Linked DNA regions of Homo sapiens: region 2 is linked to region 1. The links are contacts of gene promoters, found by promoter capture Hi-C in human tissues and cell types (Jung and others, 2019). All regions are on one chromosome and are shown on one strand. Each heading gives the region's core, a stretch centred on a gene start or on the middle of the fragment in contact. The rest is flanking DNA. Distances are from core to core; before and after follow the strand shown.

Evidence for each region. The method cuts DNA at HindIII sites, captures the fragments that hold promoters and counts their contacts. A contact is called where the count stands out against the background at its distance.
Region 2: a fragment that was not itself captured here is called in contact with the fragment with the promoter of KCNS2 in region 1 in 2 of the 25 tissues and cell types used here (IMR-90 fibroblasts and adrenal gland).

The regions. Positions count from the first base shown.
Region 1 is chr8:98,425,014-98,431,358 of GRCh38, reverse strand. It overlaps KCNS2 (potassium voltage-gated channel modifier subfamily S member 2), which reads right to left and starts at 4,401. Exons shown (of 2, transcript NM_020697.4): 1 at 4,030-4,401; 2 at 1-3,421. The coding sequence starts at 3,379. The coding sequence ends at 1,946. It also overlaps a transcript of STK3 not described here. RefSeq lists a silencer at 4,302-4,501. The HindIII fragment of the contact is 18,533 bases long and covers 1,824-6,345 here.
Region 2 is chr8:98,201,682-98,208,687 of GRCh38, reverse strand. NIPAL2 (NIPA like domain containing 2) reads left to right here. Exons shown (of 11, transcript NM_001321635.2): 7 at 3,442-3,577; 8 at 5,492-5,580. The region is part of intron 2 of NIPAL2-AS1 (NIPAL2 antisense RNA 1); the gene reads right to left. Among named protein-coding and RNA genes, the nearest start is that of NIPAL2-AS1, 29 kb to the right of the region's middle. The HindIII fragment of the contact is 6,566 bases long and covers 1,130-7,006 here.

The DNA.
Region 1 (6,345 bases), core at 3,152-5,651:
CAGAGACACGGATGTAGACACTAGGAGACAGCCACCTCCCAGCCTCCCACAAGCCTCCAGTCCAATGGAAAGATTTGAACTGGGGGCTCCAGGACACAAGTGGCTAGTGAATTCATTCAATAAATCACCCACACTGTAGTAGCCATGACAACTACAAGAACACAAAGCCTTCTGATAAGATCCTTGCCACACCTCCAATGAGGTAAGTATCATCTTCAATCAACTGAAACACAAAAGGACCTCTTAAGAAGAGGCCCAACCTTTGGATGAAAACCCTGGATAGCTCCATGCTCAGACCCCTGGGTTCTATTGCCTTTTCAAAGATGGAACAATAATGAAAGCCACCTGGAAAACCATCAGATTACCTTAAAGATGATGGAGAAGAATTATCTTATAGAGGAACCCAGGTTCCCCATCACAATGTTATGTGCTGGTTAACCGAACAAGAGGAGCAGGAGCATTTTGGAGGAGGAAACAGTCGTCTCCCTTCAATACAAGTTTGGAAGCTTGAAGGTCTTTTGAATAGCATTAAGCTTTTCAAGTTTACAATTTTTTATGACATTTTATGAACTAGCAGTTTTTTATTTTACAACTCTTTCCTTTCTCCTGGCCTCTACCCAGTCACCCCCCATGAAAGGCAGTGGGAATGCAAGTAAGAACTGCAGTGTTTCCATCCTGGGTAAGCCACACCACCATCGTGCACGTCTATATTTTGAGTACATGCTTCCATACCACCAGGTTTCCATGTCATGGCAGGAACTCCAGGGCAATCACAGCATCATATACAACATACTATATCCTAGAAGCAAAATTATCTGACTAAATTCTGCTTGGAAATAAAAGGGCTCTCATTTGATGAGCTTTCAGAGTAGGCAACAAAAGTATTTAAGCTACTGCCCTTGCTAGCAACCCAACAACGTTCACCTCAGGGAGACGATACAACAGTAAACTTCTTTTTAGTTGAGGAAGACAACACGACCTTACTCCTAAACATCTTAAAAAATAAATATTTCAAAAACATGCTAATATCTTAGACACAGCAAAGTTTGGTCAAATGGCCTAGATCAGAAACCTCATCCGGAAATACATTTCTCTACAGTCACCCTAGGAAACAAGGAGGCTTGACTGTGAACCAAGGGGCTCAGCCTGCACTAACTTGGCTTTAAGCACCCTAGGGTTTGGACTATTTAGCTGAAGCCCCTCTCCCTAACACATCTGTTCTTGGGAAAAAAATTCGATCTTCACTGCATGTTTAACTAAGTAACATTCTCTAAAGAGTGACATTTATGAGATGAACATCAGTGTACATCGTTCTAAAGATGATTGGTGCACCCATGCAAGCCACGGAACTACAGATCATTTATAAAAACAACTTAGAGACTTGCATTGGTCAAGTCTGCTTAACTTTGCATTCTCTTTGTTTTGGTACTAAAACTAAGTGAAAGCAATGGATAAAGAGCTGAGATTTTGTTTTCACATGACTGTGAGCAAAATCTCATCATATCCTTGCTGACCTCATAGATGCATTTCTACTGGACGACTTGTGGGGGCTTTTTGTACAGAACTCACACGACAACCTCAGAAACAGGAGCACGACAACTCATAGACAGTACTGGGCCACAAGCACTAGAATAGCGTACACGATGGACAGAAAAATTAGCATTCTGGGTGTACTCATCTGGCAAAAAGGTGAACATTTTATGCCCACGATGCAAAGACCAGTGAGTGTCATTTCATGGAAAGGTGCAAAGGCATGGTGTCAGACACACCACCCTCTAAAAACGATTCTAAAAACTGTAAAAGAAACCTGGGTGCATATCCCATGCATCTCTCCCCTCAGGGGCTGGGCATACTCCTTACACCATAACCATAAGGTGCCTGGGCTGTGCCAGAGGCACAAGAGGCAGCTCAGCAATGTGGGGTGGAGGGTGACAAGTCCTCCCGGCTAACGTAGGGAATCATTTAAACTGAGTTCACTTGGTGAGCTCCTGCTCATGTTCGTCAGGCTTGCCATAAGGGATTTAACTTTATGGGCATAATAGTCCCTTAAATTGACCGAAGGGACCTCCTTCATTCCATCTCCAAAGTCACAGCTGCGCATGGCACTCTCAAGTTGCTTTTGGCGCCGGTAAAAGTGGGAGAACTTATTGAAGATCAAGGTGATGGGCAGGACCACCACGAGGATGCCTGCCAAGATGCAGGCAGAGGCAGTCAGCTTTCCTGCCGTGGTCCCTGGGACCACATCCCCGTACCCCACTGTGGTCATACTGACGGTAGCCCACCACCAGCAGGCAGGGATGGTGGCCAGGCCCTCGTTCTCCTCCTTTTCAATGGTGTAGGCCACCACGGAGAAGATGGAAATCCCCACGGAGAGGTAGAGCAAGAGCAGCCCTACTTCTTTGTAGCTGTATTTCAAAGTGGCCCCCAGGGAGCGGAGGCCAGTGGAGTGCCTGGCCAGCTTTAAGATGCGGAAGATCCGCATCAGCCTCAGGACCTGGGCCACCCTGCCCAAGTTGGCTAAAGTAGGTGTGCTCTCCACCACCAGGTTCACCACCAGAGTGATGTAAAAGGGGACGATGGACATGAGGTCAATAAGGTTTAGGGCATTCTTGAAGAACTTGAGGAAGTCAGGGGCCACAGCAAACCTGGCCACCAGCTCAAATGTGAACCAGGCAATGCCAAAGTGCTCCACGATTTCGAACCTAGGGTCCTCGCCAGGGTTGCCCTGGCTGTCAGGGATTTGGAAATCGGGCAGGCTATTGAGGCACATGGTGATGATGGACCCCATCACCACCAGGATGGACAGGATGCTGAAGACCCTGCTCAGCACTGAGTAGCCGGGGTTGTCCAGCGCCAGCCACAGCTGCCTGCGGAAGTTGCCGAGGGGCTGCCCATCGAACTTGGAGGCGTCGTTGTAGAAGGCAAGGATCTCATCGAAGGAAGACGTGGTGCTCTCCTGGTCACTCTGCTCGTCCCACTTCTCCTGCTCGGGCTCTACTTTGCGGCCATGGTAGCTGTAGCTGCAGCAGGAGTCAATGAAGAACTCGTTGATGCCCCAGTACTCGATCTCCTGGCTGAAGGAGAAGACACATAGCTCAGCCATGACGTGAAGCTTGCCGGTGTGATAGAAATGCAGCACGTAGGGGAAGAGCTCAGGGTTGCGGTCGAAGTAGAACTCCCGCTGGACGTCGTCGTAGTCATCGCAGAGCTCCAGAATGGCCTCGCGCGAGTGGCAGAGCAGCAAGCGGCCCAGGCGCGTCTCGGGGAAGCGCAGCAGCGTGTGCGAGCGCAGCCTCCTCTTGAAGCCGCCCACATTGATGCGGATCTCCCCGTCCTCGACGTTAGCCTCCGACACGTCCCACAGGCTCTGGCCGGTCATGCTGGAGGCGCCGGCCGCCCGCGCCGCGCGGGGGCGCTACACCTGGAAGCGGAGGGAACAGCGTCGGCGAGAGCGCCGTGCGCCCTGGCGGGGCCCCCTCTCCCTACCCATTACTGGCGGGCCCAGGCCTCCTGGTGGGTCTTGGGTGCTGAAGGGCTGGGCTGGGGCAAGAGTTTGAGGGGTCTGATCCCCTCCCAGGAAAGGCTGGGGGTGGGTATGTTTCTATTAGCACAGCTCCACCCCAGGGGTCTCGGTGGGCGCTTTGCGCGTGCGGGGTCGCGTCCCCGCGGCTCTGAGCGCCCAGGGGGCTGCATGCTGACCTTGTCCATGGGCAGGCCCGGGAGACGCCCCCGCCCGCTCGCCGCAGACAGGCGGGACCGGAGCTGAGATACGCACGGGCAGGGCCGGGCCGACACGGGGGGCGCGTAGCTTTGGTGGGGTGGGGGGGATGCGCTGGAGTCTGGAAACCCGGGCCGCGGGAATGAGGGGGGCGGCCCGGCCTCCCCTGGGTCCAGATCCCACGCCTGCAGCCCCCGCGTCCCCGGCCCAGGTCTCCCTGCCGGCCTGGCGCTATGCCCCGGGGCCGCGTGCGCTGCGCCTCACCCAGCGGGGCTGCCCGGGCTCGCCCTGCGCGTTCTGGAAGCGCTTACCTGGGAGCACGGGTGCCCGCGGCCGAGGCCGGCGGGAAACTTCCCCAACCCGCGGGCGAGCATCGCGGCGGTGGCCGCTGCCTGCTGGCGGTGCGTGCGCGGGTGCGAGTGTGTGCGCCCGGCGGGCCGGCGGGCGGGGGCCGCCGAGCGTCTCCTCCCGTCTCGGGCCGGGTACGCCGCCGCCGCCCGCAGCTGCCGAAGGCTCACAGGTGGCTGCGTGGTCCCGCCGCTCCCGGAGCCCCCTCTCCGGATCCGCGCGCCCCTCACCCACCCAGAGAGGCAGGAACCCGCGCCGCATTCGCCCCGTGAGCCGGGGCGGGAGCAGAGCGGGTGTGACGGGGCGCCCGCCCTGCGCGGGGCGCGGCGCGGTGGTGCTGAACGGACAGCTCCGCGTGCCTCGGCCGCCGCCCGGGCTCGGAAGGCGCAGCCGCCGCCGCCGCTGCTTCTCTGCGCTTCCCCGGCGCGTCACCGCGACCACCTTGCGCCCCCGGCTCGGCGCGGGGCCGACACCTCTCCCTTCCCCCCGACCATCCCCCGGTGACAGCTGTTATTATCACCACCCCCAGGGCGCAGGCAGGGGGCTGCCTACGGTGACCTTTCCCCGCTGGGTCTGGCGGGAGCTGGGCTGGGAAATAAAGGGCGGCTTGCGCGTGTCCGGGGACAGGGCGGGACCGGAGGAACTCCAGGTGTCCCCTTTTAGGGACCTGAAGAAAAGTTTCCCGAAGCCCGGGGGTGGGGTTGTTGGGGAACAGGAGCTGGAGGGGAAAAGAGGGGGCCGGGAAGTCCAAGGTGGAGATCGGCTTAGTACGCGGGGGGCGGGAGCGCAGGCCGCACGGCGGGGGCGGGAGTCGCTGAGTTCTGGTCGGGAGCTCTGTGTGGGCACAGTTTGTGTCCAGGCCGGTGTGGTGTGCTGGCTGTGCGGGACTGCAGGGCGCTGTGTGTGTATGTAGGCTGAGGACAGCAGGACTTTTCAGTGTCTGTGTGTACCGCGTTCATTAAAATGGGTCCTCTGTCGGATGGGAAGATGCGTCGGCACAGGGGGGACCTGGGACGTGTGTCAGCGCAGTGTGTGGCATGGGGAACCGTGTGCTGTGTGTACATGTGCTGTGTACAGTGTAGTACTCTTGGGACTGTGACGGGCTCATGTGTGTGGAATATGTTGAGAGCGGTGTGCTTGCCGACAGTGGGGACTGGGGGGTTCAAGCTGGAGTGGGGACTGGTAGATGTGCTCAGGATCTGTGTCCCTATTCCTAAGAAGACTCGTGGCCCAGATCTGAGCTCTTGGTCTGCTGGGATTGTCCTTAAGGCCCTGCCTACTGGGCTGAGCTGAGAAATGGACCCAGTCCCTGGGGAGCCCCCTCCCTTTGGTGTTTCTCTGTGGTGTCCACTTGCAAAGACTGGAGCACCGTGGTTGTGTGAGCTTAGCAGGGAGCTAGCGTCTACATGTCTCGGTCAGAAGTCCTGGGAATGCCCTTGCAGGGTGGCTCTGGATTCATGGTGCAACCACCACTGCCACAGTGGGAAGTACATTCTTTCTTTACGCAATCCTGGCAATGCCGTCCCAGCTGAAAAGGTGCTCTGTGTAGCTCTGGAGGGCTTGGGGCCTCCTTGGAGGACCTGTAGAGGACCGTTAATCTGGCTTCGAATGGGGGCTCCTGCATCCAAGTCTGACCCATCCCTGTGACCCACTGGCTTCTGGACATGTGTGTGGGTGTGAATGCAGGTGTGTTTCCTGCTGAGAGGGCTTCACACCCATGCCCCTGCAGGCCTCTGCAAATGTGGTGGATTCCACAGAGGCAGCCACATGGGAGAGGGATAGTAGGGTAGTGAGGGCCACACACACTTCCTCTTTCTTGTGTATGACCTTTCCCCAGGCTTTGGGAAACTTTTCTTCAGGTCCCTAAAAGAGGAATCCAGTCCTCCATTCTGCCCTACCCTCAAACACACACAAGCCACCCTTTATTTCCCAGTGTGTTTGTGTGTGTGTGTGTGTGTGTGTGTCTGAGAGGGAGAGACGGAGAAAAATCTGATCTTGGTTATCCTTGTCTTCATCTCCCTTTCTTTCAGGGTCTGTGTGTGGACAGCAGCCTCTATCTAGGTCTGCTGGGTCCATCATTGGAGGTCTGTGGCTCCCACACACCTGGCTGCAGTCTGGGAGCCCCTGGATCTCCTTCATCCCCATGGGGGTGCTGTGGAGAGAGTGCCACCCTTGCTGAGGGGGTGTGTGCTTCAGTGCATTTATAATCCCTGTGTCAGTGCCTCTTTCACCCTTTTCCAATCCCCCCTTCCACACCTTCGGCGGGGTGATGGTGGCTG
Region 2 (7,006 bases), core at 3,163-5,662, 220 kb after region 1:
CACCTAAGGTCAGGAGTTTGAGACCAGCCTGGCCAACATGGTGAAACCCCAGCTCTACTAAAAATACAAAAATTAGCCAGGTGTGGTTGTGGGTGCCTGTAATCTCAGCTACTCAGGAGGCTGAGGCAGGACAATTATTTGAACCCACGAGGTGGAGATTGCAGTGAGCCAAGATCGCACCATTGCACTCCAGCCTGGGCCACAAGAGCAAAACTCCACATCAAAAAAAAAAGTACTCTAACGCCTCTGGGTTGATCAGGAAACCAGGAAGGCCAGGAAGTCCTTCTCTATCCATGGAATGCTTTGGTTATCAGAGACAAATTAGTAAATAAAATGTTTATGGCTCTCATAAGGAAATGTTGATGGCAACCTAGAAAAATTTTTGAAAGGAGGTATATTGATGAAAATCTAAGAGGGAATTGAGAGGGCCAAATTTCAAAAACAGGTCAGCACATGTTTAGAAAAAATGGTGTTGTTCTAATGATGAAAGTATACATGGTAATTATTGACAATTACGAAAATAGAGAAAGATACAAAGAAAAATACAAAAATCTGTGCAATTGAGCACTGTACAACAGAGTGTGACTGGTACTCTCTGGAAGGCAGTTTGCTAGTATATTTCACAAGCCTTCACAGTGGCTGTAGTCAGGAATTCCCCTTTGGTGGTTTTCCTAAGGAAATAGGCAGAGTGATAAACAAAGACTTACGTTCAAGAATATTCATCACAGCCCCGCTTTTAATAGTTAAAAAAAAAATGGATACAACCTAAATATCCAAAAATAGGGAATTGCCAAAATAAATTCATACAAATTCATGGTTTAGAAGAATACTTAATGAAATAGAAAATACTTTAGGTAAATAGGTTCCTAAGTGGTATATACTTGGAAAATGAGCTCCTAAGTAGCATATACCTTATGATTCACATGTTGTAACCTATTCATACTTATAGATAGGAAAATAACAACATGTCCAAATGTCAAAAATGATTTGAGGTGAGTGCTGAAACTACAGGCAATTTTAATTTTCCTTTCCAGGCTTTCCCACATTTTCCAAAAATTTTTAAATGAATATGTTTACTTTTGTAGATTTTTTTAATGAATTTCAAGTTAATTCATTATCCCAGTGCTAGAGATAACCACTGACAATATCTTGATGTAGTTTATTCTCATCTTTTTTTCTGTGCTTACCTAAGTACCTTCTATTTTTAAGTATAATGTTAGAAGAACACTGCATTACAATTATGTATTTCCACCTATCCTCATCAACCACCCCCCAAAAATACTTAGAAGTACTCAACACCAGCCTAGAAATAATTTACAGGTTAAAATAGTGATTAATCAGTTGACAATTGTGCATGCTTTGAAAATGTAACGATTGGCTACAGAAATTGATAGTTTGTTTAGCTATCAATAACAGAGAATTCTAGTTTTGTCTTTGTCTTGTGTTTAAGTATAATATAAAATCAGATAGTGGTTAAATCAGATGACCTTTAAGGTCCTTTGCAATTCTGAGGTTCTGAGGCTAATGGAACAGTACGTTCAACTCCTTCTCCATTAATTGTCCCGTTGGGAAACCTGGCTGTTCAGACCACAAGATCATAATCACACTGTGTTCTAATTTCAGGCAGTGTTTAGAAGGAAATCAAGGTCCCTCAAGAGCTAACCTACAAACTTAAACCATCAAGTGACACACAGATCTCTATAGATATTTAAAATGCCTAGTTTAGCTAAGATGTGGCTACTAGCATAATCAGTAGGAAATATGTAAAAGAATCAGGTCAAAAGACATCTTAAGATGGAGAAAGGCCTGATTGTAAGGGCCTCTTTGTTGAGAAGTGGGGTTTGTTTTTAGAATTTATCACCTGATCTCCTCTGTCAATTATGATTTTTTTTTCCTTTTTTTTTTTTTTTTGAGACAGAGTCTCGGTCTGTCACCCAGGCTGGAGTGCAGTGGCCCTCTGCGAACTCCGCCTCCTGGGTTCACGCCATTCTCCTGCCTCAGCCTCCCGAGTAGCTGGGAATACAGGCATCCACCACCATGCCCAGCTAATTTTTTGTATTTTTAGTAGAGACAGGGTTTCACTGTGCTAGCCAGGGGATGGTCTCGATCTCCTGACCTCATGATCCGCCCGCCTTGGCCTCCCAAAGTGCTGGGATTACAGGTGTGAGCCACCGCGCCCGGCCAATTATGATTTTTAACTAAAAGAAAATGCCTAATTTGGAAGTGTGCCCTAGTACCCTTCAAGTTAAAGTATATTTTCAGTTTTTGGAAAACGATATTATGGGAGGCTTTTCTTGGCTGGCCACCACTTGCTGTTTTAAATATATATATATTTCAAATACATACATACATACATACATATATATATATACACACACACACATACATAAAATACCTTTTCAAATAAAATGAAGGAAACTCAGATATATTATGACCAAGTAGATCAACAGCAACAAAAGGAGTATTTCTCCTTCGCATTGCCTTTGACTTATAGTTTTTTTATTTCATGTAAAAATTATTTTTGAACTTTCAGTGAGTTTTAGCTAAATTATGGAATTATTTGCAACAGTAACTTCGAGGGACATAAGACAGAAAGCATTCTTTTCTTCCTTACAGAAAGATGATGTTGCCAGAAAATGCTCCATTACTTTCATAGTGATATAACCTTATCAAGTTACTTTTTCTTAATTGCTGTTTGGAACCTACGAAAAGTTTGTTCTCATAAGGGATGAGTTCCACTTTAGCATAGAACATAAATAGCTATTGCTTATGTAAACCTTAAATTGATGGTCCACCCTGAGAAATGAATACTCAACTCTGCTCCTGCTTCCAATTATTGTCATTGTCAAAAATATTCTTAATGAAACTTCTAGGTGTCTCCTAACAAAAGGGCTCACATATAGACTTAGTACAACTCACTTGATTTTAGCCAAAAGGCTGAGAAGCAATGACTTAGTACAACTCTAAGTAAACTCAAGAAGTGAGTTGCATTTCACTTTCCAGTCTTCTCATCTACTTGGTTTTTAAATTTTCAGTATAGTTTAATAGTTATTTTCTCATTAATGTCACATGGACAATCTGACTTTTCTTATCTCCTCCCTCCATTGTTTTTGCCTTTCCCATCTACTAGTAATTATAACCTCCACAGCATTCTTTCAACAGTTAGGGATGGAAAAGAAGCATCTTGCTCCACAGATAAAAAAAAAAAACACACAGTCACACAGCAGATCTTTAGCTGATTTAAGCAAATTTGATATCCAGCACGGCTCGAGCAACAAGGCCACTGCTTACTAATGTCACATCCCTTCCTACACCTCTCACAACTGTGTTCATTCTTAAACCATAATTGGTATATTTGCTACTCTACTACATAAGCTTAAGATATTTGTTAATTCAATCTGAAATATGTTCTTTATTTGTGTTTTTTGTTTTCTTTTTCAGCCTCATTGACTGTTATTTCAGTAAAGGCCGTCTCAGGCATGATCACTTTTTCTGTGATGGATAAAATGCAACTAACTTACCCCATTTTCTATATCATGTTTATCATCATGATAGCATCTTGTGTTTTCCAAGTCAAGTAAGTTAGCTTCTGCATACTCACTAATCTTTCAACATTCCGGTGCTTCTCTGGGCATTAATCTTTACTGGCTTCAGATGATAATTAAAATGAGATACAACTGATTTCTAAGGGTGAAGGGCCTGTAGCTTGTCCTCAGCCAACATGCCTTGCTTCCTCCTTTGCATCCAATAATGAGTTTTTATGAAGCGTTGCCTTCATGTCTTGTGAGTTCTAAAGCGCAGCCTTAATCCAGCTAAGTGCACTTTGATACTTTCCTGATGCTCTTCTGCTTGTAATTAATATCTGTGGTACACAGGTTGTCATTAGCAATAAATCAAAGGGGCAGGTCCACATCCAGGCTTTCATTCTAAATATAGGACACACATGAACCCTTCACCTTCATTTCTTAGCTCATGCTCACTAATTGCCCAGAGAAGGACGAAACCAGACATTTGGCCGGGAGGGAAATCCTTTCCCCAAAATTTTGCATCTTTGGCCAGAATTTCCTTTGTATCCATGGGATTGCGGAATGATTGTTTTATGTTTCTCTTGAGGCCTAATAGTGGTGACATGGAACGTTTTTAATTTCTGCTCTTCCCTGCCCCCACTCCATCAACTCTAATCACTTCCCCTCTATCTCTCACATTGGGATTGTGCCTTTGCCTGCTGGGCTTTCTTGAGTTGACCTGAAAGTTTTCTGTTCACCCCAAAATGCTATGCAAAAGCACCATCCCAGATAAGAAATCAGAGCTCAAAATCAGTACAAGAGTGGTTCCTTCTGTAGGTGTGAGAAATACCGTCTAATTGTTATGGGCTGAAGATAGGCCCTGTTACAAGGTCTATGGAGAATTACTGGAAAAACCCAATGTTTTGTCACTGGTTTGTCATCTCCTTATAAGCCTGTGTTTCTAATACTTGCATTTGCTATTTCATTTATCTGTTTCTTCTGAATTAATTGGTACTGCCACAGTATCTTTTGGGATTAGTGGCATTATCTTCATACCATACTTTGTAAATTTGACAGGCAGACACAATTGGGGGTAAACTGCATCCTGTCACCCTTGTCTCAGTCTCCTGCACCCATCACACTGTACGACTGTGGTTCTCAGCCCTGGTTGCCCATTAAAATGACCTGGTTTTTGTACATACATATGTACATGCATGTATATGACCTGGCTTTTGTACGTATATGTACTTGCAGGCATACATGCACATACATGCATTTACGTATACCTACATATGTGTATGTACACACACACACACACACACACACACACACACAGGCTCTACCCACAAAGTACTTTTTTCAATTTCTCTAGAGTAGGACCTAAGCATTAGTGCTTTTTAAAAGCACCCTGGTGATAGTGCAATTCACTGCTTCAAAAAACAATCTAGTCCCTAGCAGGGCAGCACAGCACAGTTGTGGGAACTGCATTTGTGTTGGTGGCCAGAATGAGAAGCTGAGCTCCCACATGTGCTCTGCAGCTGGAGCACTGAGCATTGTTTTTGAAACATTAAACATTCCTTTACTTCTCCATCTTCTTTCTTGGCACGTGGCATGTCAATGGATAGCTCTACTATTCCCCAGATATGATATTTAACAGATTCTGGGGTCTATCCTAATGAATCAGGCCCAGTGTGATACTGGTCCAGCAGCTTGAATCGCTTCCAACTCAAACTTCTGTGGCCTCGGAATATGATTAATTGCTTTTCATTGTTACTGTTGTTGGTTTAAACAGACCATAGAACCTGACATCTGATCTCATACATCAGATGCATATAAGCTATGACTGCTGATTGGAAATGCCCTTTCACTGCACCTCCTTTCCCTTTGTAGTTGTAGCTAAAGAACACGTGTTTCTTGAAGTTATTGTTAACTTATTGCTGAATGTCTCCTAAAGCCAAAGCTCCAGTAAGTGCCTTCTGCCCTAGGTTCCTGAATCAAGCCACGAAACTCTACAATACGACAACAGTGGTGCCAGTTAATCATATTTTCTTTACAATCAGTGCCATCATTGCAGGTGAGTTTTGGTTTTCTATACATTGGTGATTCCAAGCATAAATGAAGTTTCTCCCAGAGTAAATGAGAGAATCCAGAAATCTTTAGGTTGTAAGGATCTGTGTTGCCTCCACCTGGTGTCTGAATTTCCCCTATGACAATCTTCCAGGAGAGGTTCCTCTACTTTGTGTGAATGCTCTCTGCCTCCTGGGTCAGCTCAGTCCTGCTTTGGATCACTCTCATTCTCTGGAGATTTCTAAGTAGAAAGTGTTTTCTTATATTGGAGCTGAAATGAGTTTCCTTGCAAATTTAAGACACTCATCTTTGTTCTTGTTGGAGTCTTTCCCTTGCCAGCCCTTGGATTAGTCCATTTTGTGTTGCTATAAAGGAATACCTGAGACGGAGTAATTTATTTTTAAAAGAGGTTTATTTGCCTCATGGTTCTGCAGGCTGTACAGAAGCATGGTGCCAGCATCTGCTTCTTGTCAGGACCTCAGGAAGCTTTTACTCATGGTAGAAGGCAAAGGGAGAACAGACACGTCACATAGCAAGAGATGGGGCGAGGGAGAGGGGTAGGTCCCAGTCTCTTTAACAACCAGATCTCATATGAACTCAGTACTGACAGAGGACACCAAACCATTCGTGAAGGATCCACCCTCAGGACCCACACACCTTCCTCTAGGCCCCACCTCCAGCATTTGGGGATCACATTTCAACATATGATTTGGAGGGGACAGATATCCAAGCTATATCAGCCCTTCTGATCATCAAAGCAACTGAAAGGTCCTCTTGAGTCTTGTCTCTGGGCCATACATGCCCAATTCTACTAACTCTTCCCTATATGCCCCTCACCAGCTCGATCAGACAGTACAATCCAAAACTGAATTCAATGTTCCAGGGCAAGCCTGAGAGACAAGAATAGAAACTACTGCCTTTGCTATTCTGGCCTCTATTTTTCTACTATTGCAGTTCTTTTATTAGTATGGACCATTTTTTAAAATATGACAGGCATGATAGCATTAAAACTAAAAGTATAAATTTGAAACTCGGTCCAAACCAAAAACAGTTGATTTGAGTATACCATTTCTATATTTGGTACTGGTATGCCCTCATTCATTGGCTTATCTGATGTATTTACCACCTTCTTGATCTTGAGAGTTCATTTCTCAATGTAAAGTTTATGTATTTGGAGGAGTAACTGAGGATTGTCTGTTTCCTAACTGGCACATTTTTTTTTCATTTTATGGAAAACAATGTGACTGTCAGTGGGTAGTTCTTTAAAGTAATTAATGCATTTTCTGTTTCCCAAAATTGAAACTTAATATTTAAAGAAAATATTCTATCCCATGACATCTAATTTTTTAGTATTTTAAGCTAGTTAATAAATTAAGAAAAGATTGCATATTGATGTGTCTTAGAATTATTGGAAAAGGAAAATAGGCCAAAAA